7 separate regions of the Homo sapiens genome follow, and all the other regions are linked to region 2. Evidence: promoter capture Hi-C in 16 types of primary human blood cells and fetal thymus (Javierre and others, 2016). All regions are on one chromosome and are shown on one strand. Each heading gives the region's core, a stretch centred on a gene start or on the middle of the fragment in contact. The rest is flanking DNA. Distances are from core to core; before and after follow the strand shown. Region 1 overlaps PTK2 (protein tyrosine kinase 2). Region 2 holds the start of PTK2 (protein tyrosine kinase 2). Region 3 overlaps DENND3 (DENN domain containing 3). Region 4 overlaps DENND3 (DENN domain containing 3). Region 5 overlaps DENND3 (DENN domain containing 3). Region 6 overlaps PTK2 (protein tyrosine kinase 2). Region 7 overlaps SLC45A4 (solute carrier family 45 member 4).

Region 1 (2,700 bases), core at 172-2,671, 210 kb before region 2:
TGAGACTCTGTCTCAAAAAAAACTGATTCAAAATAAACAGGAATTGGGTCTTTTCTAAGTGAGATGCTAAAGTTAAAAGGAAACTATTATTTCAGAAATGTAACATATATGTATGCACATATATAAGAACAAATTACATATGTGTGTATATGGTTACGTATGTATATATGTGCATATACAGATGGTATATGTATTTTAAGATATCAAATGGGCCCACAGAAGATGCTTTCTCATCCTCCCCCTTTCCTTTATTTCCCACATTTTTAAATGGGAAAAAAGGCATATCTATTTTGAAACATACCAAGGAAAGTACAACACACTTAATTGCACCAGCAAATAGTTAAGACAATGCTCATGCCAGAATCTTAACTATATTTTTTAAAAAGCAATACTCAAACACCATATTGTGAAAGACAAAAATTGTTTTAAAATGTCTCACATTTCCTGAACTTCTTAAAATAAATATGCAAAGTATATTCTACTGAATTGCAAGATAAATTATAATGGCAACTTCATTCTGGATAAGATTAACATGATATTAAAACCCAAAAATAATTTGGAATTCTATACAACTTGCTGAGTGATCTGGTATTTTATCTATGTCCCATCTTAAAAAAAAAAAAAAAAAACTATGAGCCATACTTAAAACTATTTAATGATGGTAAAATTATGCAAATTTGGATAGCCAGAATGCTTATTTTCATAAGCTATTCTAGAACGAAGCAATTATACTAAAAATAGACATCTATGATCGTCTTACCCCATGAGAGTGCTTTTCGAGGTCTGCTACCTAGAGCCCCTTACCTGACACAGAGACGGCGTGTGTCCGCATGCCTTGCTTTTCGCTGTTGGCCAACCTGTGACAGACAAGAGCAAAGCTGTAAGCCCTGCAATTTCCCCAGGACCCCGCAACTCGGCCTCATCAAGTGGGGAACTGCCTTGGATGAGGAAGACAAAATTTTAGATACGTGATTTCTTTAAAAATTGGATTCTACTATTAAAATAGCCAGGCTGCTTTAATGCTTTAAAGATCACAAATTAAAATACACAACTGAAGGAATGTTGAACTGTTCTGAGAAAGATACTCTTGACAATAATTTAAAACAATGCAATACAATTTAATCTGGTATGAATGGGTTAAATAAAAATATAAAAATATAAATTTAAATGCTACACACTAAAGGATTGCCCCTAAAGTTATGAGAAAAAAAACATACACCTGGAAGTGGATTTTGCTCTCTAAAACATAATATGAAATACTACAGTATGACTGGTCTTTCTCAAATTTATGGCACATAAAAAATTATCAAGCAATACATTAATATGTACTATTACCTACATACTTAAAAAAGTAATCTCAATGTATCTTGCTACTTGCTTCATGACATGGTTTAACACTAGTTTTACATATTTACCCACAAAAAATAAAATTTTGGCCAAAAGTCTTGGTGCCGTTTAAAAAATTGGTAAAAAACTTTTGGAAAGCACAAAACACAGGGAAAAAAGGAGCCACACAGTCTTTAGATGTCAAAGTTACCTGATCTTTTTATAAGAGAAAACCTTTTCCAGATGAAATATTGACATTTAAAACAGTATAGGTTGAATATCTCTTATCCACAATGCTTGGAACAAGAGTGTTTCCAATGTCAGATTTTTTGGATTTTGGAATGTCTGCATATACAAAATGAGGAATCTAGGGGATAGGACCCAAGTCTAAACGTGAAATCTGTTTATGTTTCATATACACCTTATACATGTAACCCAAAAGTAATTTCATACAATATTTTAAATAACTTTGTTCATGAAACAAATATTTGACTGCAACCTGTTACACATGAGGTCACATGAGGTCAGGTGTGGAAGTTTCCACTTGCTGCAACATGTTGGTCCTCAAAAAGTTTCCAATTTTGGAGCATTTTGAACTTTGAAGTTCCAGATTAGAAATGCTCAACTTGTACATCGTTTCGAAGCACTACAACTATTTAATGTGAAACTGTATAATCTCTATAATAATCACAGCAAACAGCCATAGACTTGTGTTCCTTTTACAGAATTCTCCAAATATTTGAAATTTTATATCTTTAGTATAAAAATTTAATCAAAGTTGTTTTCTAACAACTCATTACTTTCTCTTCCATTGCGCTACATGATTTATCACAACTTATCTTTGAACTATATTTATTGGGCAGTCAGAGGACACACATTTTAAATCAATAAATTACATCATTTCCTTCCCTGTTGTGCTGCCAAAACACTGGGGTTTTCCCTTGTCTGCGCCACAATTATGTATGCTGTTGCTAAGCAACTTTCTCACGATAGCTTGGATTTCAGCTCTTATCTGATCAACAGCAATAATGGTGTCCTGCTGCTATAAGGTTTGTGGAAATTCCACTCTTGTAAAGTTTGCTTCATTTATTTAGTTTCCTTTATCTGTTAACACTTGCAATGTACTACCTTCCTCACTCACTTTCATACCTATGTTCATGATTCCTCTATGTGTGTGTGTGTCTGTGTTTTAAGAAATGGGGTGGAGTCTCACGAAGTCACCCAGACTCGAGTGTGGTTGCTATTCACAGGCATGATCATAGTACACCACAGCCTCAAACCCCCGGGCTTCAGTGATCCTCCTGCCTCAGCCTCAGAACCACAGGAACATGCCACATTGCCCAGCTTTGATTTTAATCCAAAATTATCCCTTAA
Region 2 (2,700 bases), core at 198-2,697:
TCCTAGCGATGGTTAAGTCTTAAATACAAATCCCCAAACTCTTGCACTGCCTTCAGCTTTCAGCTTGAATGTATAACCAGTTCCCATAATTACTACAATATTACTATTATCTTAGTCTCATTGCCAAAAACCCAGCTGCAGGCTAACTATGCAAGAATGAGACACTGTTGAAATGACTCGGAAAAAAAAAAAAAAAGAAACTTTACCCTCACTGAATTTAGCTACAAAATTCTGCAATTAAATGAAACCAATTCACACACACACACACACACACACACACACACACACACACCCCTTCTTCTAAGAAAGAACAGGATGCCGCTACACAAGGAACCCAGAGAGAAATTCGGCAAACAGTTGCGCCTAAGCCACCGCGGCAGAGTCGGGGGCTGGGGGCGGGGAAGAGGAGAAAACTTGGGAAGCACAATGACTCCAGTGAGGACTTCAGTGAGGGCTCCAGGGCTCCCGCCAAGAAGCCCACGGGGCTCTACCAAACTTGAGGGTTTGCGTTCGGGGACACGGCGGGCTTGGGGCTCGGGCACCGGCAGGCCGCTCGGAGCCCACCCTTGGCTGCCCGCGAGGCCGCGCCCGGGGGACGGAGGTCGGGCCGTCGCGAGCCTCCCTCTCGCGTCCGGGCGAACCCTGCCGACGTCCCTGCGATTTCCCTCTTCCTCCTCCTGCCTCTCCCCTTTTGTTTTTCAGGCATTGGGTCCGCTCCGGCGGAGGCCGGCCCGTCCTCCCCGCGCCTCTGTCCGCCCTGCGCGCCCCCAGAGCCCCGGCCTCCTCGTCTTCCTCAGGCCCCTCGGCCTCTCCGCGCGCCCGGCCTTTTCGAAAGCCGCCCCCCCCTTCCTCCTCACGTCTCCCGGACTCCCCACGTCCCCCAGCCTTTCTGTCTTCCCCGAACCCCTTGGCCTCCCCGCGCGCCCCCAAAACCCCCGACCTCCTCGAGCTCCCGGCCTCCCCACGTCCCTCAGCCTCCCAGTCTTCCCCAAGCCTCCCGACCACCCAGCGCCCCGAACCCCCGCCTCCCAGCGCGCCCCCTGACCTCCTTAAGCCTCTCGGCCTCCGCGAGGGCCCCCAACCTCCTCACGGCCACCGGCCTCCCCTCCTCCCAGAACCCGGGCCGGGGGCGCGGGAGGGGCCGGTCTCCGCCGCATCCGCCCCGGGACTGGTTGGGCGGCCCCGCTCTGCCCCTCCGCCCTCAGGGCCGCGGCCCAGCCCACGACCGCTGCACAGAAGGAGCCCGCCCAGCCCCCGACCCGCGCCCCGCGCCCGGCGCCCCGCACTCACTCGGACCGCGGCTCGGCGCCGTGAAGCGAAGGCAGACGACGACGGGGCGGCGCTGGGCGACAGCAGCCGCGCTTCCTCCCACGCCTCACGCCGCGGGCTCACAGTGGTCCGGGACCGGCGGCGGCGGCGGCGGCGCGGGCTCGCGCCCTCGAGGCCGTGCTGCGTCGGCGCGGGCCCGCGCGCGTGCGCGGCAGCCGGCTGAGGCGCGCGTCCTCTCTCGGCAGCGCACGCCCGACCCGGTCTCAGTCCGGAGTTCCCGCCTCTCGGGGGGACTGGGCATGCGCGCCGCCCCCGCGCATGCCCAGCGCGCCGCTAGGCTCTGCTCGCGTAATTTGTCCTGTAGTGACCGCGCCGGGGTTTCGGGGTGGCCCGAGGCTGCGCGCGGGCGTGGCGGCCGGACGAGGAAAGCCCTGGTCTCGGGGGTGGCCGGGGTCGCCCCGCCGAGCGGACATCCTGGGGTCCCACCTGCCTCGCTCTCCGCCAGCGGGATTAGACGGACTTCGGGAAAGTCCTCCCCATCTCCTTCCCTGCCCCCAAATCCCGAAGGGGTCCCCTCTGGAGAACCTCCCTCCTGAGCGGCCCTGCGGCCCCGCCCCCAGAGTTGGACGCCCGCTGTCGGGCACCCGCTGCGGGCCCCGGGCCTTGCAGTGCACTCTCCAGGCACCACACCGACCCTAACGAGCGGTTCCTGGGCCCTTTTTGCAGACAAGGAAACTGAGGCTCAGAGATTCTTTTCATGGCATTATAGCTAAGTTGGGCTGGGCCATTATTTGATTTTGGAAGATGAAAAATCATGAAAGGGACTTAGAAGTCCACTGGAGGTAGACAGGTTACCTAAATGAACGCCAGCAGGGAACGAGCCCTGCAATCCCTCCCGAGGGCTACAGACCTGAGACGGGCTCCAGGAAAAGGAGGGAAGGCTCGCCCCGACACCGACCCGGGCTTCCGCGGTGTGAGCCAGTTTCAGCGAGGAGCTAGTTGGTTATGACCGGAACGTGCCGTAGGTGGGGTGGGGGAAATAGCAAAAGGCGAGGTTGGAGGGATTGAAAAATGCAGACGGCTGCGTGGGGCTTGCTTAGGTGCCTGGAGTTTATTCTTTAGGCAACAGGGAACCTTTGGAGGGCTTTAAGCAGGAAGTGATAACTGATTTGTGTTATTTAAAAAAAAAAAAAAGTCACTCTGGCAACCTTGTGGTCGGAAATGAAACCAGAAGAACCCTCAAGGCTGCAACTTTCATTTTTATGGTGTCATTTTGATGCTAACCACAAGCCAGGAAGCAGGACAGACAGGCACCGAGGCCTTTTGAAAGGTGAACACCCTGAAGCCCAGAGAGGTGACACACGTCATTGCATTAGGAGCTTTTATAAAAGTAAAAATGAAGTAAAATAAAAAGCTTTTGCTTATCAAGAT
Region 3 (2,700 bases), core at 81-2,580, 190 kb after region 2:
GGTCCAAGCACTCCACAGCGCATTCCCCCAAACTGGATGGCTTCAAATGACAGAACTTAATTTTCTCACAGTTCTCGACGCTGGAGGTCCAAAACCAAGGTGTCGGCAGAGCCGCTTCCCTCGGGGGCTCGGGGGGAGCGTGCACTCCAGGCCCTTCTCTCCCCCACCCGCTCATGTGGCCGCCGTCCTTGGCGTGCCCTGGCTGTGGACGTGGCACTCTAACCTGTGCCTGCACCACATGGCACTCTCTCTCCCTGTGTGTGTCTCTTATGGGGATGCTGGTCGTACTGGATTAACCAGTGTGACCACATCTGAACTATCTGCAGACTCTACTTCCAAAGAAGCTCACATTCTGAGGTTCAGAGGATATGGATTTGGGGGGACACTGTTCAACCCATTACAGTCTGCCCTCTGGCCCCCTAAATCCACATCTGTTCCACATGCAAAATACACCCCCTCCATCACTACATCCCCCGAAGTCCCAGTCCCTCCAGTGTCAGTTCTGAGCCCCAAATCTCCAAGTGAAGCCAAAGCCCTCCGATGTGGGTGAGCCGTGGGCGGGTCCCACCTGGGGCAGAACCAACCCCTCTTGCACCGTGAACCTGCGCAGCTAGAACAGGCTGTCTCTTCCCAAAACACAAGGCTGGGCCAGGCAGAGGTTAGACATTCTCATCCGAAAAGGGAGAAATTGGAAGGAAAGCTGGACTTCCAGGCCCCGAGCAAGTCGGAGACACGGCGGGGGTGGGGCGGAATTCGTTTAGTGTTTTCCCCCATAACTTAATTGGGGTATAATTGATGAATAAAAATTATATATATCTAAGGTATACAAGGTGATATTTCAGTATACATTGTGAAATAATCACAAGCTAATTACCATATCTGTCACCTCACACAGGTGGCTGTTGTTTGGTGAGAACACTTAAGATGCACCCCAGCACTTTTCCAGCACGCAGTGCAGTCTTCTTCCCCAGAGGCCCCTCGGCCATTAGGTTCTAAGCCCGAGAAGGGTCCTGTGCACCTGCCAGGCGGCCCTGACCCTCAGGCGGCAGAGGCCCTGTCCAGGAAGGACATAGATTTGGAGGCACACGCGTCAATTCTGGGTAGCCGGGCAAAGCCCTGGTGCTCTTGGGAGGGGCTTCTTTCCCTGCTGACCCCTCCCGTTTCTCCCTGGCAGGTCTGGGTGGGCAGCCGAGGGCTGGGGCAGGGAACACCCAAGGGGAAAATCTACGTGATTGACGCCGAGAGGAAGACCGTGGAGAAGGAGCTGGTGGCGCACATGGACACCGTGAGGACGCTGTGCTCGGCTGAGGACAGATACGTGCTGAGTGGGTCGGGCAGGGAGGAGGGGAAAGTCGCCATTTGGAAAGGCGAATAAACGTGGCTGAGTCTGCCAAGTGGAACTGTGCCCTATGTGTGGGGACTGGCTGCCCCCTAGAGCCTGCCAGGAGCAGAAGCCTGGAGGGGTGGCAGGGCAGAGCAGCCCAGGCTCAGCATGGAGCCCACTTACCGTGTGGCCAGCCGCGAGACCCATGGCCACGCACCTTCTCTCAGGCCTTCGGGCCCCCTGGTTAAACTGCACCAAGGGTGTTTCCTGTTGGGGTGTGTCTCAGGCAGGCAGCTGCGTCTTGTTGGTGATAACCTCTGCTGGGAGGTTACTTTGTTGCCTAGAAAGTTCTGGAATCCACAACCAGGGGCTGGCACTGGAGCCAGCAGCTTGGCCGAGTCACAGGTGACCCGTGGCCCTCACGTCTCTGGTTTTACCTTTCCTTACTTCATTCATTCACTCACCCAGTCCTTACGAATCACCGAGGAACACTGGGCTGAGCACATGACAGGGAGCCTGGAGCCCCGGGGCCTCCAGCGAGGCCTGAGAAGGGTGGTTCGGGTAACCACTGTGGGCTCTCTCCCATCACAGAAGGTGGACAGGGCCTACCCAGGTGGAGGGGACCACCCTGCGATCAGGTGTTTGCGACAGGGGTTGGGCCAGCTGAGGCAAGCTGTCTTTTTTCCCTTTTCTTTTTAATAGATGCAACATTTTTATAATAATCCTAGAGACCTTTTTTCTACCAAAGATCACAGACCAGAAAAAGTTCCATCTAAAATATCATGCCCAGGAAAGCACATGGGATCAAAAGTAAAATAGCATCATGTGTGATCTCGTCTTCCAGCGTGCCGCTCAGTTCCCCGAATCCGTGTGCACACGTGTGATCTCGTCTTCAGTGTGCCGCTCAGTTCCCTGAATCCGTGTGCACACTGCGTATGTGTACGCGCAGCATGCTATACTGAACTCAACAAGATCTTGGCTGTACATAAATATTTGTAAAAGAGACCCTTTGCACCTTTTTACTGTAATGTTGAGACTTCATTACTTAAATGTTCTACGGAAGGTTCTGGTGTGGTTGTTGGAGCCGGAGGGAGCGTGTCAGCACGTGCTGAGGGCATGGGGCCTGCCCCCTGGGCACCCATCCACAAGCTGGGCCACGGAGCTCCAGCTTCTCAGGACAAAGCCCCGGGGCTGGCGCATCCTGAGGGTCTCTGGGGGTGTTTGCCAGGCTCCTGGGATGGGCCGCTTTCAGAAGCCCTGCAGTGCCTCCAGATGGAAAGGCGGGCCCGGCCTCCGGTTGGGTCTGCATTTTGGAGAGTCCACACCACGGACCAGGTTTTCCCCCAAGGCTTGGCTTTGTGTAGCTACTAACTTCT
Region 4 (2,700 bases), core at 53-2,552, 180 kb after region 2:
AGTACCAGCTGCAGCCCTTCTGCAGACCGAATGCCTTCCTGTCCCTCAGTTTGCTCATCTGTAAAGTAGGAATAAGGCTGATACCTTCTCAGTGGGTGGTGGAGATTGAATAGTTTGCATATGGAGCATGCTTAGAATGGTAACTGATTCTCTGTCACAGCTGACTTGCATCTGGGAGGCAGGAAGTAAGAATGTGGGCTGACATTCTCATTAGGGACAGTAGGACGCCTTCGTTCATCCATGAGATGTTTACTGAGAAACTGCCATGTGCCAGCCACGGTGAGCTACAGTAGCTCACATTTTCTAGTCACAGTCGGACCTGGTTCATATAAAACATAACAAGCTTATTTTATAACAATTAAAAAATCTTCAAACAGTTTTAACATTATATTCTAAAGGTAGTCATTTTCCCTGTCGAGGAAATCTGAATTTCATCCTGATTCCTCTTACGCCTTATAGTTGTTTTCCCAGATTTAAGGGGACTGTAAGAGGCATGTCAGATACACAAATGTTTTATGTGATCACCTGCTGAGTGGTCATAGAAGCCAGAAAGGCAGTCAAGCCACAGCCGCAGCCCATAGTAAATGCTCGGCCAGTAGATCCCCCTCTTGCTGTTGGCCTTCAGTTTATGCTTTTTTCCACACCTGCTTTTCCAGACTTCCTTCTAGAATTCCAAAGAAATGTAAATAAATATAAGGAAAGGGAGATGGAAGTAAAAAAAAACAAAAACAAAACAAAAAAAAAAAAACAAAAAGAGGGAGAGAGAAGTATTTAAGGATGTGAAAGAATGCGCTGCCTTCGGACACTGGGCGAGCCCAGCTGTGTGGGTGGGTGTAGGTGCCGCACCGCAGGTGAATCCTACCTGCCGTCCATGGGAACACTGCCCCTCACCCGGGGCCCTGCCTTCCACATGCCAGCAGGATGCGTGCCTGCAGCCCATCTGCCTCTTCATTCCAGAGCCCGCTCTGCCTCTGTCTCTGGTGAATCCACGTGTTCTCTGAGTGTGACATTCCTAACTTTTCTTTTCTGCCTCTGCAGGAGGTCAGGAGAACCACTACTACATTTCTACTTCGGAGAATACCCACTTTAAAAATCAGAGTGGCGTCCAAGAAAGAAGTCTTCGAAGCCAACCTGAAAACCGAGTGTGACCTTTGGCACCTGATGGTGAAGGAGATGTGGGCTGGGAAGAAGCTGGCCGATGACCACAAGGTGGGAGACGCGGGTCCCCTCTGCCCTTTGCTGTGGCTGCCTCAGGGGCCTCTCGCCACCTGTGGGTCCTGTGGCAGTCCTCAGCTGTGAGTGCTCGGGCTCGGGTCTGAGTGTCTTAAGCAGAGTAAGTTTGTCGGACACCATCTTGACAGAAGCATTGAAGATGTGGTCTGTGTGACCCAGCGAGAGGCCTCACGGTGCTACGGAAGAGCATGATGAGAAAACGCAGGGCGGTCTGGGCAGGTGTGGGTGCCCCACTGCCCGCTCCAGACTGGCGACATCCCAGAGAGTGGGGCCTCCCGGGGGCGGACGGTGCTGGTGCTGTCCACACCCGCAGGCCGGAGTTGGGTGTTTTGGGCTTCCCTGCTCTGAGCGACTCTTCACAGTCACAGGATTTGGAATTCGGCAGGGGCAGTACTGCTTTCCTTCCACAGGGTTGAGATGATTTTTCTAGGGATTGTTGTACCTTAATTTACTTTGGGCCAAATTGATAGCTTTGATGATATCAAATGACAATTGCATAGTAATGAAGGGAACCATGGGCCGGTGGTGTGTAGAGGAGGCATCCACGCTGCTCAAGGGTGGCACAAGACAGGAAGACGCCTTAGAAAATGGGCAAAGACCATGAACGCGGAACTCACAGAAAGGGAACAGTTCACCAGGTTATGAAGAGGTGTGTAGCCCCACTAATCCTCAGAGAAATGCCGGGGACGATGGCACCCACTACAGTGGCAGTGCTAGGAGGAACAGATGGGGCCACAGCGGGAGGGTTGCTGTTATTACAGGAAGTTCCCGGTCACAGGGCAGAGGGGGACTGGGTCCTTTCTAAGATTCCAGTGCCCTGTGGCTTTTAGACTAGCCATCTGATGCTATACCCACTGGTTTACATAGCATAAACCAGCATAGTCAAACCAAAGCCCGTGGGCCAGTGGACTGTCTTTGTAAGTAAAGTTTTATTGGAACACAGTCCTGCCTGTTTGTTTATGAAATGTCCCTCGGTGCTCCCATGCCGCAGTGGCAGGCAGTGGGTGATCTCAGCTGAGACTGGCCACAAAGCTTGAAATGCCTCCTGCCTAGCCCCTTCTAGAAAACACTGGCTGAGCCCTGGTATAAACAATCAATATTTGTCTTAAGTAAGAGAAGAAATATATGACATAAAATCCAAATTCATCCGTGATCTAAACTCTTCATGTCACTTTGGAAAAAGGCATTTTGGAAGGATTGTCCTGTGTGTTGCAACAAGGTCTCCGGTGAACTGATCTTAGTGATTCTTGCTGTTTTGAAACGCACGTGTTTCTGTTGTAGGACCCTCACTACGTCCAGCAGGCGCTGACCAACGTCTTGCTGATGGACGCCGTCGTGGGCACACTGCAGTCACCAGGCGCCATCTACGCTGCCTCCAAGTTATCCTACTTTGATAAGATGAGTAACGAAAGTAAGATAAGCCCGTTCTTAGCGTGGATCATTGTCCTGATTACACGCCTTAAGTGA
Region 5 (2,700 bases), core at 74-2,573, 130 kb after region 2:
CTGCCTCCCAAAGTGCTGAGATTACAAGCGTAAGCCACCGCTCCCAGTCGGATTTCCCATGTTTTGTCCTGGTTCCTACTGATACATTTTTTTCTCCAAATGTAAAGCAATTGTTGACCGAATTTGAGTGATGTAGCGTGCAAATCGTCATATAGAGATCAGAGTGTGCTTACTGATGGAAACTGCTGCCGTTGTTGAAATTTCTTCCAGCGTAAGACTCCCCTTTTGTCACTGCTGTGTCTTATTGGAATGTTGAGTGTTGGCTGTGCGTTTTCTGTCAGCCAAGGTCCCATTTCTCTGGATGGCAGTGCTATCTCCTTTCTTCCTTACGGAGTCTTGCTCTGTCGCGCAGGCTGGACTGCAGTGGTGAGATCTCGGCTCACTGCAAGCTCCGCCTCCTGGGTTCATGCCATTCTCCTGCCTCAGCCCCCCGCCCGGCCGAGTAGCTGGGACTGCAGGCATGCGCCACCAAGCCCGGCTAATTTTTTTGTATTTTTAGTAGAGACGGGGTTTCACTGTGTTAGCCAGGATGGTCTCGATCTGACCTCGTGATCTGCCCGCCTCGGCTTCCCAAAGTGCTGGGATTACAGGCATGAGCCACCGCGCCCAGCTCTTTCTTTCTTTCTTTCTTTTTTTTTTTTTTTTTGAGACCAGGTCTTGCTCTTTCACCCAGGCCGGAGCGCAGTGGTGTGATCACAGCTCACTGCAGCCTCAACCTCCTGGGCTCAGGCGATCTTCCTGCCTTAGCCTCCTGTGTAGCTGGGACCACAGGCATGTGCCACTATGCCTGGCTAATTTTTTTATTTTTTGTAGAGACGAGGTCTCATTTTGTTGCCCAGGCTGGCCTTGAACTCCTGGGCTCAAGCAGTCCTCCCGCTTTGGCCTCCCAAAGTGCTGGGATCACAGGCGTGAGCCACTGCACCCGGCAATGCTGTCCTTTCTAGGGTCCCTTAAAGACCCTTGACTACCTGCCTTTGGCCACCTCCTGTCTCTCCATGCCTTGGGTACCCAGGGCCCCTTGCTTCAAGCTTTGCTGTTTCGGGCTAGTTTAGTACCAGAACCACTTCCTTCTTGCTCGCAGACTGCAGGGTGTCCACCTTGGAAAGATCTGAAATCAGCCGGGCAGCAGTATTTGTTTTGTCCTAGCTCTGTACTAGGAGCTGTATTGGGCATAGTAGTAACATGGAAGAGAGATTGAAGGGATGGCCCATGTGCTTTGTATTATTTTAGGAAAGAATGGGAAGAAAAAAGGCAAAAATAAAAATTATGCCAAGTTAAAGTTGAGAAGAATTCAGGCCAAATGCCCCCCTTTTATTGATTTGAGGGACTGTTTGGTCAGCCGAGGAAGGGCACATGTCTCATCTGTACCCACCAGTGCTGTTTCTCACTCCATGCGTCCTCCCAGATCAGTGTGGTAGAAAGGAGGCAGCACTGGCCCACGTGGGGGTGTGGAGGGCGTGGCCCTGGTAAATGTGTATGTGTGGGGTTTGACAATATACAGAGCCTGCCCCCACCCAGGGAGGGCTGAACAGTATATCCATAGGCTCCTGGCAGCCCCGCTGGGCTGAGTACCGGACCCACATTGTCTCTGTTATTCCCTGTACTCGCCGCTTAAAGGGAAGCTTGGAGGGACAAAGAAGCTTGCTGTCAGGAGGTGGAGGCACAGCCAGGACTTGAACTCAGGTCTGTGGATCCCAGTCCGCAGCCTGGACGGCAGTGCTTTATAGGAAGGAGGTGAGGTCCTGCTGTCCATGTCCACAGCTGAAGAGCCAGGCTCTGCGAGTCTACGTGGCTTCCCTGAACATAGGGCCTGGCAGGTTCCTAAAAGAAGCTTCCCAGGAGCCCTTTACTGTTAGGAGCCTGAGGCGCCAGTGTTTATGGGCACCGAGGGGAGGAGAAAAACAAGCAGTGAAGCTCAGACAGAAAGGATACCCTCGAACAAGAGCTGAGGCTGTGGCAGTAACTCTTATTTTTCCCTTTTTTAGGTTGCTTATAAAAAGGGAGTCAAACATCTTTCTGCTCTTCTTGATCCAGAGGTCCTGTCCATTTTCGTGCCTCCTTTTATCAGTAAAGAGGACAGTCAAATGGCCGGTGCCAACTGCGGCACTCTCGGTAAAACCCGGATGCGCTCCTTGAGAAAGAAGAGAGAGAAGCCCAGACCAGAGCAGTGGAAGGGCCTCCCGGGGCCCCCCAGAGCGCCAGAGCCTGAGGATGTCGCCGTCCCGGGCGGCGTGGACCTCCTCACCCTGCCGCAGCTGTGCTTCCCAGGTATGTCTAGGAGGTGGGCACCACTGGGCGCCTCCTGCTGCCGGCCACCCAGAGTGGTCTATTCCCAGAAACCCACAGGCAGAGGGAAGTGACGTGAGCGGCAGAGCCAGGGACCCCTCACTGCCTCCTCTTGTGGGATTTAGTTTTCTTAATCTTGGGGATTTTTTTAATTTTTTATATTTATTTATTTATTTATTTACTTTTTTGAGACGGAGCGTCACTCTGTCACTCAGGCTGGAGTTCAGTGGCACAATCTCCTTTCACTTCATCCTCTGCCTCCTGGGTTCAAGTGATTCTTCTGCGTCAGCCTCTCAAGTAGCTGGGATTACAGGTGCCAACCACCACGCCTGGCTAACTTTTGTGTCTTTAGTAGAAATGGGGTTTCACCATGTTGGCCAGGCTGGTCTTGAACTCTTGGCCTCAAGTGATCCA
Region 6 (2,700 bases), core at 5-2,504, 160 kb before region 2:
GAGACCACAGCTGCGTGCCACCGCGCCTGGCTAATTTTTATAATTATTTGTAGAGATGAGGTCTCGCTATGCTATCCGTGCTGGTCAAGCCATCTTCCTACCCTGGCCTCCCAGTGTGCTGGGATTATAGGTTATGAGCCACTGCACCTGGCCCAATATAGGATGTTTAAGAAATAAAATCATATACATGTAGGGAAAGCCAAAAATAATAACTGTATAAAATAATAATAATGTCTAATATTTGGAGTTTCAATTTTGAAAAGATATAACTAAAATAACAGGAAAAAATGATGTGTAAGTTGGAAGAAGATGGGGAGAGTTAAGGTGTTTAAAGGTCCTTGTATTGTTTAAGAGAGGGTTAGATAAGTTTAAAATCTGGAGTTGGTTAATATAGAAGGTTAAATGTAAGGGTAACTAATGAAAGAGTAGAGATGTTTATAAATTTCAACGTAATTACAGAAGAAAATGTGGAATAAGAATACCAACTAAGAAATACACAGCACATGCACTCACACACAGCTTATTTCTAGGACACCGGAAATAAATAATAAAAGCGAGTCCAATATATCACGCATCCTAAGAAATACAGATGTACTAAACCTGTCAGTTCAAAGAAACACTTAGCAAACTGGATTTAAGAAATCCAGCACTATGACATTTTTAAAAGACACACCTGAAAGTATAAGGACACAGAGAAGTTGAAAGTGAAGAAATGAAAAGTATAAACCAGGTCAAGGCTAACCTAAAGAAAGCAAAACAGATTTCAGAACAACAACAACAAATTATCAGGCATAGAGAAGATCACTACATAATGATGCAAAATTCAATTTACCAAGAAGGTATATTGTTCGTATGTTTAAATAAAAGCGCCTCAAAATATCAAGGAAAAATTAATAGACTTATAGGAAGAAATTGGCAAAGTCATTATCACAGATGGGTATGTTAACAAGCTTGATTAGGAAGTGCATTTTTTGAATCACACTAAAACATTTATAAAAACTGATCACACAAAGCAAATACAACAAAATGTTAATAACTGTAGCATTCAGGTAATAGACACACAGATGCTCACTGAACAAGTCTCTCAACTTATTTGTATTTTTGAAACTTTTTCATGATAAAACACTAGGGGAAAATGATCTTATTCTAGGGTCCACAAAAGAAGTCTCCATAAAAGTTGAGAAGCTCTTATCACACAGACCACGCTATCTGAGCATAATGTCATTAAGCCAAAAGTTAATTTAAAAAGAAAATATTTTTAAAATCCACACATTTGAAAATGTAAAAACAGAAATGAATACACAAAAGTTTCAAAACAAACATTTAACAATCTTAAGTTCTGGAATGCCTTTTTAAAAATCGGATCTTAAAACTCAAAAACCAAAATGAAAATACGATTTTACTACATTAAAGAAAGACAAACTTCTGTAATGATGAGAGCCATATACACATAGTTGAAAGAAAATGACGAGCTGGGAAAGAAAATACAGAACTAACATTACAAGATGTGTTAACATGACAAAGACTGCTTAAAATTAATAAAGAAAAAATATATTAGAAAAGCTTATTTAAAATATAGTTAATTTACAAAAAAAACTTAAAAATGGCCATATATGTGAAGAGGTTTAATATCACCAGTAATCAAACTAATATAAAGCAAGTTATCATCTGTTGCCTATCATATAGGCAAAAATGAACAAAAAATGGCACCATGCCTTACATTGTTATTAACCTGAACTGAATGTCCACTATTATGTGGCTGTTTAAATGTATGTAGCATTATATACTCATTGGGTGGACTAGTATACTAATGTATATTTTTATTTAGTCACATGGAAAGATCTATTAAACATAAAGTTGAATAAAAAAAGCAAGATGCATATAGGATTATTCCACTTATATTAAAACTATGCATTGAATGTGCACACAAGTGTTAAAACAGAGAGCTATAAGGATATTTATTAAAACTATGATGGTGGTTATCAGTGAGAGGAGTTGAAGAAATTTTCTTATTTGACACTGTAGTTTCACTTTTTCTCTAACTAGAATGTATTATTACCTTTGAAAATAAATAAATTAAAAATCATTTTAAAAGGGCTCAAAATTAAATCAACAGATGAACAATAACATTGTTTTCTATTTTTTTTTCTTAATGCTCTTTAAAGAAACTCTACAGTTTGGTTTTTATCCTGATTGACAATCAATATCTCCCATGGATAATAATCATAATTATAGTCCACATTTATTCAGTGTTGGGTACAAGAGGTATTAAGCTCTTGACATAAATTATCTCATCTAACTCCTTACGACAATCTCATATATAGGTAGGTATCACCATTATCCCCATTTTACACGTTTGGAAACAGACACCAAGAGCTTACTAATAAAATTTGGCAAATAGAATAGTCAAGGTGCGATAAGGACTTGAACCCAGATATTCTGCTTCAAGAGGTCACTCAACTAATCTACTTATATGGAGATAGGGTGCTGAATTCACACAAGTTGTATAACTGCAACGAATCACTACAGTGGAGCAAAAGCACAGGAATTTAGAAAGAGGGGACAGCAAAATAAGCACAATAGCATCCTAGAACTACAATAAACTAAAGATTCCTCTTTCTTTTAACTATCATATTTACTTACTTTAAATATCACACATATAAATTAACTAAGATGAAACAGCCATATCAAAACAATAGA
Region 7 (2,700 bases), core at 40-2,539, 230 kb after region 2:
GCCGGGAAGGCCTTGGCTCTGGGCTGAGAGTGTGGCCCCTCGCGCCAGAGGCAGCAGGGACCCCTCAAAGGTGCCTGGGCTGGGACACGCAGGTCCCCGTGAAGGCCACGCTGCAAGTTGGTGGGGGGAGGACCATGAGGAGGCCGGTTTGGTCCAACCTAGTACTCCCTGGACCAGATGACCAGCTAAGTCCCCGAGGTCAAAGGCTTGGATCACAAGGTCACCACTGGATGAAGAGGGCACATTAGGAGGGGCTGCTCCAAGAGGGCCGCGCAGCTACCTGGAGTCGGATGCCACGTGGGGGAGCACCCAGCAACAGCAGGTGGGCGGACGGCTGGCACTGCGGGACCCACACCGAGTGGTCGGGTCACCTGGCCACCTGGCATCTTCCAGACAAAGAACCCTCGAGCCAAGGTGCAGGCAGAGACCCAGGGACCATGGGGGACCCTCCCCCATCAGACACAGAGCCACTGTGGGCCCTGCCCAGCCCACTACATTGACAGGCACAGTAGGAAACACTCTTGCCACACGGCACCGAGCCATGGATCCCACTAGGAAGTTACTGCCACATGAGACTGCTCTGTGTGCGCGAAGGCCCAGTACACAGCGACGCCTCTCAACAGCGCCTGGTGAGGGCAAATGGCCCGAGATCAGGAGACCCCACTTCAGTTCTTTACCAAGGTTCTCCTCCCTCCATGGGCACTGGAAGGTAGTGCCTGGGTAACCAAGGCTCCAGGTCACGTAGCACTGCCCAGGCCCAGTGAAAATGGCAGGAACAGTACATTCCAGTGGGGCCAGGCCCCACACGCCAAGTGCCCGACTCAGGCTCTGCATCTCTCCTCTGCCGCTGGCCTACAGAAGGGGTCTTCAGGGGTGAAGCTGAGCCTCCAATGGATTATATCATCTGCCTAAGCTCATACAGATGCTAGGGACTGGAGGGGGCGGGGGAACCCCCCTCAGGCTCCCACACATGGGGCCGGGGAACCTCAACAATCCATCACACGCCAGCCCCGCTGCTCTGTGCGCCATGCTTTGGCCATGGGCTGGTTCACGTCCAAGGCTTGGACAAGATGACAGCAAATGTCCCCTTCAGCTATAAGCCTTTATGGTTTGAATTAGGGACAGATGGGAAATCCAGCTGCCACCCTTATATACTGCTGTTTGTAGCTTTGATTATAACAGATGGCCAGAAACACCCCAAATGCCCAAGCATGGAACAATCACGCCAAGGCCTCAGGTGAAGACAGGGAATGCTGCTGCTGCAACATGAACGCACACTCAGTGGCTCCCAGGTGAGCACTCAGGAGCTGCAACGTGAACACACACACTCAACGGCTCCCAGGTGAGCGCTCATGAGCTGCAATGGGAACACACACTCAGTGGCTCCCAGGTGAGCACTCACAAGCTGCAACGGGAACACAGACATTCAGTGGCTCCCAGGTGAGCGCTCACCAGCTGCAACGGGAACACAGACATTCAGTGGCTCAACACAGACATTCAGTGGCTCCCAGGTGAGCACTCACAAGCTGCAACGGGAACACACACACTCAGTGGCTCCCAGGTGAGCGCTCGCGAGCTGCAACGGGAACACACGCACTCAATGGCTCCCGGGTGAACGCTCACGACCAGCTTGGGCTGGACTGGCGTCTCCTTTCAGTGGTTGCCACTTTCCATGGTGTAGATGCTACCACCCCGCCCAATCTCAAGCTGCTGAGGTGACGTCGCTGAACAGGAGTGGAGAGGAGCAGCAGCCAGCGCTGAGCGGCACCTCTGCCCCGCAGGTACAGCAGGCAGACACACCAAGGCGAAAGGGAGTCGGGCATTAGGAAGTGCTAAGTGCGCGTTAACTTTGCTAACCTAAATCAACTGTAAGCAAGTAACTTTTTTCACAATGGATGTGTTAACGGCCAGCCCGCAAAGTTCTTGAAAATTTAAGCTGGCTCTCAGGAGCCAGGATGAGCTGGTTCCAGCACACAGCTGGGCTGCAGACATTCGTTCATTGTACCCTGCCTACTGCCACACACTGATTTAGATGTGGCTTGAGAATGCTATTAAGTTAAAACTAGCAAGTTTTTGGAAATTAAGGAAAAAATGAATTCTTACTGATGGTTACTATTGCAGTTTATCAATAAAGATCTTGGGTATTTAAAAATTAAAAAAAACACAGCCAGGTGCGGTGGCTCACACCTGTAATCCCAGCACTTTAGAAGGCTGAGGCAGATCACTTGAGGCCAGAAGTTCGAGATCAGCCTGGCCAACATGGTAAAACCCCACCACCTGCAGCAAAAATAGAAAACAATTAGCCGGGCATGGTGGCAGACACCTGTAATCCCAGCTACTTGGGAGGCTGAGGCACAAGCATTGCTTGAACCCGGGAGGCAGAGGTTGCAGTGAGCCAAGAGTGCGCCACTGCACTGCAATCTGGGCAACAGAGTGAGACTGTCTCACAATAAACAAATAAATAATAAAATGAAATAAAAAACCCTCTAACAATATCTCCCTTTATGACACTTCTGCCCAAGACGGCAGGCCCCTGGGAAACGGCTATGGAGCGTGGCACCCGTTTTGCTGTGCTTTTCCCGTTTTGCTGGTGCAGGGCCTTGGCTAGGCAGGTCCAGCAGGTCTGCGGCTGGACCTGACTCTGGGCTGAGCTGAGCTTCAGAGGCCAGCACTAGGGCCCCATGGTTGAGTGGAGGCTGA

The links. Contacts are between HindIII fragments. The CHiCAGO score rates a contact against its expected background, and 5 or more counts as called.
Region 1: a fragment that was not itself captured here is called in contact with the fragment with the promoter of PTK2 in region 2 in 7 of 17 cell types (endothelial precursors, total CD4 T cells, naive CD4 T cells and 4 more); the score reaches 8.7 in endothelial precursors.
Region 3: a contact is called between a fragment that was not itself captured here and the fragment with the promoter of PTK2 in region 2, in 3 of 17 cell types (total B cells, monocytes and naive B cells). The highest score is 9.0, in total B cells.
Region 4: a fragment that was not itself captured here is called in contact with the fragment with the promoter of PTK2 in region 2 in 3 of 17 cell types (total B cells, naive B cells and endothelial precursors); the score reaches 12.1 in total B cells.
Region 5: a contact is called between a fragment that was not itself captured here and the fragment with the promoter of PTK2 in region 2, in 5 of 17 cell types (naive CD4 T cells, total B cells, naive B cells and 2 more). The highest score is 5.9, in naive CD4 T cells.
Region 6: a fragment that was not itself captured here is called in contact with the fragment with the promoter of PTK2 in region 2 in 7 of 17 cell types (endothelial precursors, total B cells, naive CD4 T cells and 4 more); the score reaches 9.5 in endothelial precursors.
Region 7: a fragment that was not itself captured here is called in contact with the fragment with the promoter of PTK2 in region 2 in 1 of 17 cell types (monocytes); the score reaches 5.8 in monocytes.

Annotation. Positions count from the first base shown.
Region 1 is chr8:140,788,670-140,791,369 of GRCh38, forward strand. PTK2 (protein tyrosine kinase 2) reads right to left here. Exons shown (of 36, transcript NM_001352702.2): 14 at 805-857. Among named protein-coding and RNA genes, the nearest start is that of MIR151A, 57 kb to the left of the region's middle. The HindIII fragment of the contact is 3,807 bases long and covers 1-2,700 here.
Region 2 is chr8:140,999,835-141,002,534 of GRCh38, forward strand. It overlaps PTK2 (protein tyrosine kinase 2), which reads right to left and starts at 1,448. Exons shown (of 36, transcript NM_001352702.2): 1 at 1,291-1,448. RefSeq lists silencers at 1,113-1,442, 1,463-1,882. The HindIII fragment of the contact is 6,005 bases long and covers 1-2,681 here.
Region 3 is chr8:141,192,859-141,195,558 of GRCh38, forward strand. DENND3 (DENN domain containing 3) reads left to right here. Exons shown (of 23, transcript NM_001352890.3): 23 at 1,175-2,700. The coding sequence ends at 1,375. Among named protein-coding and RNA genes, the nearest start is that of SLC45A4-AS1, 60 kb to the right of the region's middle. RefSeq lists an enhancer at 1-268. The HindIII fragment of the contact is 4,384 bases long and covers 1-2,700 here.
Region 4 is chr8:141,175,553-141,178,252 of GRCh38, forward strand. It overlaps DENND3 (DENN domain containing 3), which reads left to right. Exons shown (of 23, transcript NM_001352890.3): 15 at 1,039-1,209; 16 at 2,515-2,644. Among named protein-coding and RNA genes, the nearest start is that of DENND3-AS1, 47 kb to the left of the region's middle. The HindIII fragment of the contact is 1,922 bases long and covers 342-2,263 here.
Region 5 is chr8:141,134,524-141,137,223 of GRCh38, forward strand. It overlaps DENND3 (DENN domain containing 3), which reads left to right. Exons shown (of 23, transcript NM_001352890.3): 2 at 1,986-2,268. Among named protein-coding and RNA genes, the nearest start is that of DENND3-AS1, 5.7 kb to the left of the region's middle. RefSeq lists an enhancer at 135-753. The HindIII fragment of the contact is 594 bases long and covers 1,027-1,620 here.
Region 6 is chr8:140,840,192-140,842,891 of GRCh38, forward strand. All of the region lies in intron 7 of PTK2 (protein tyrosine kinase 2), which reads right to left. Among named protein-coding and RNA genes, the nearest start is that of MIR151A, 110 kb to the left of the region's middle. The HindIII fragment of the contact is 613 bases long and covers 949-1,561 here.
Region 7 is chr8:141,231,239-141,233,938 of GRCh38, forward strand. The region is part of intron 2 of SLC45A4 (solute carrier family 45 member 4); the gene reads right to left. Among named protein-coding and RNA genes, the nearest start is that of SLC45A4-AS1, 22 kb to the right of the region's middle. The HindIII fragment of the contact is 5,972 bases long and covers 1-2,700 here.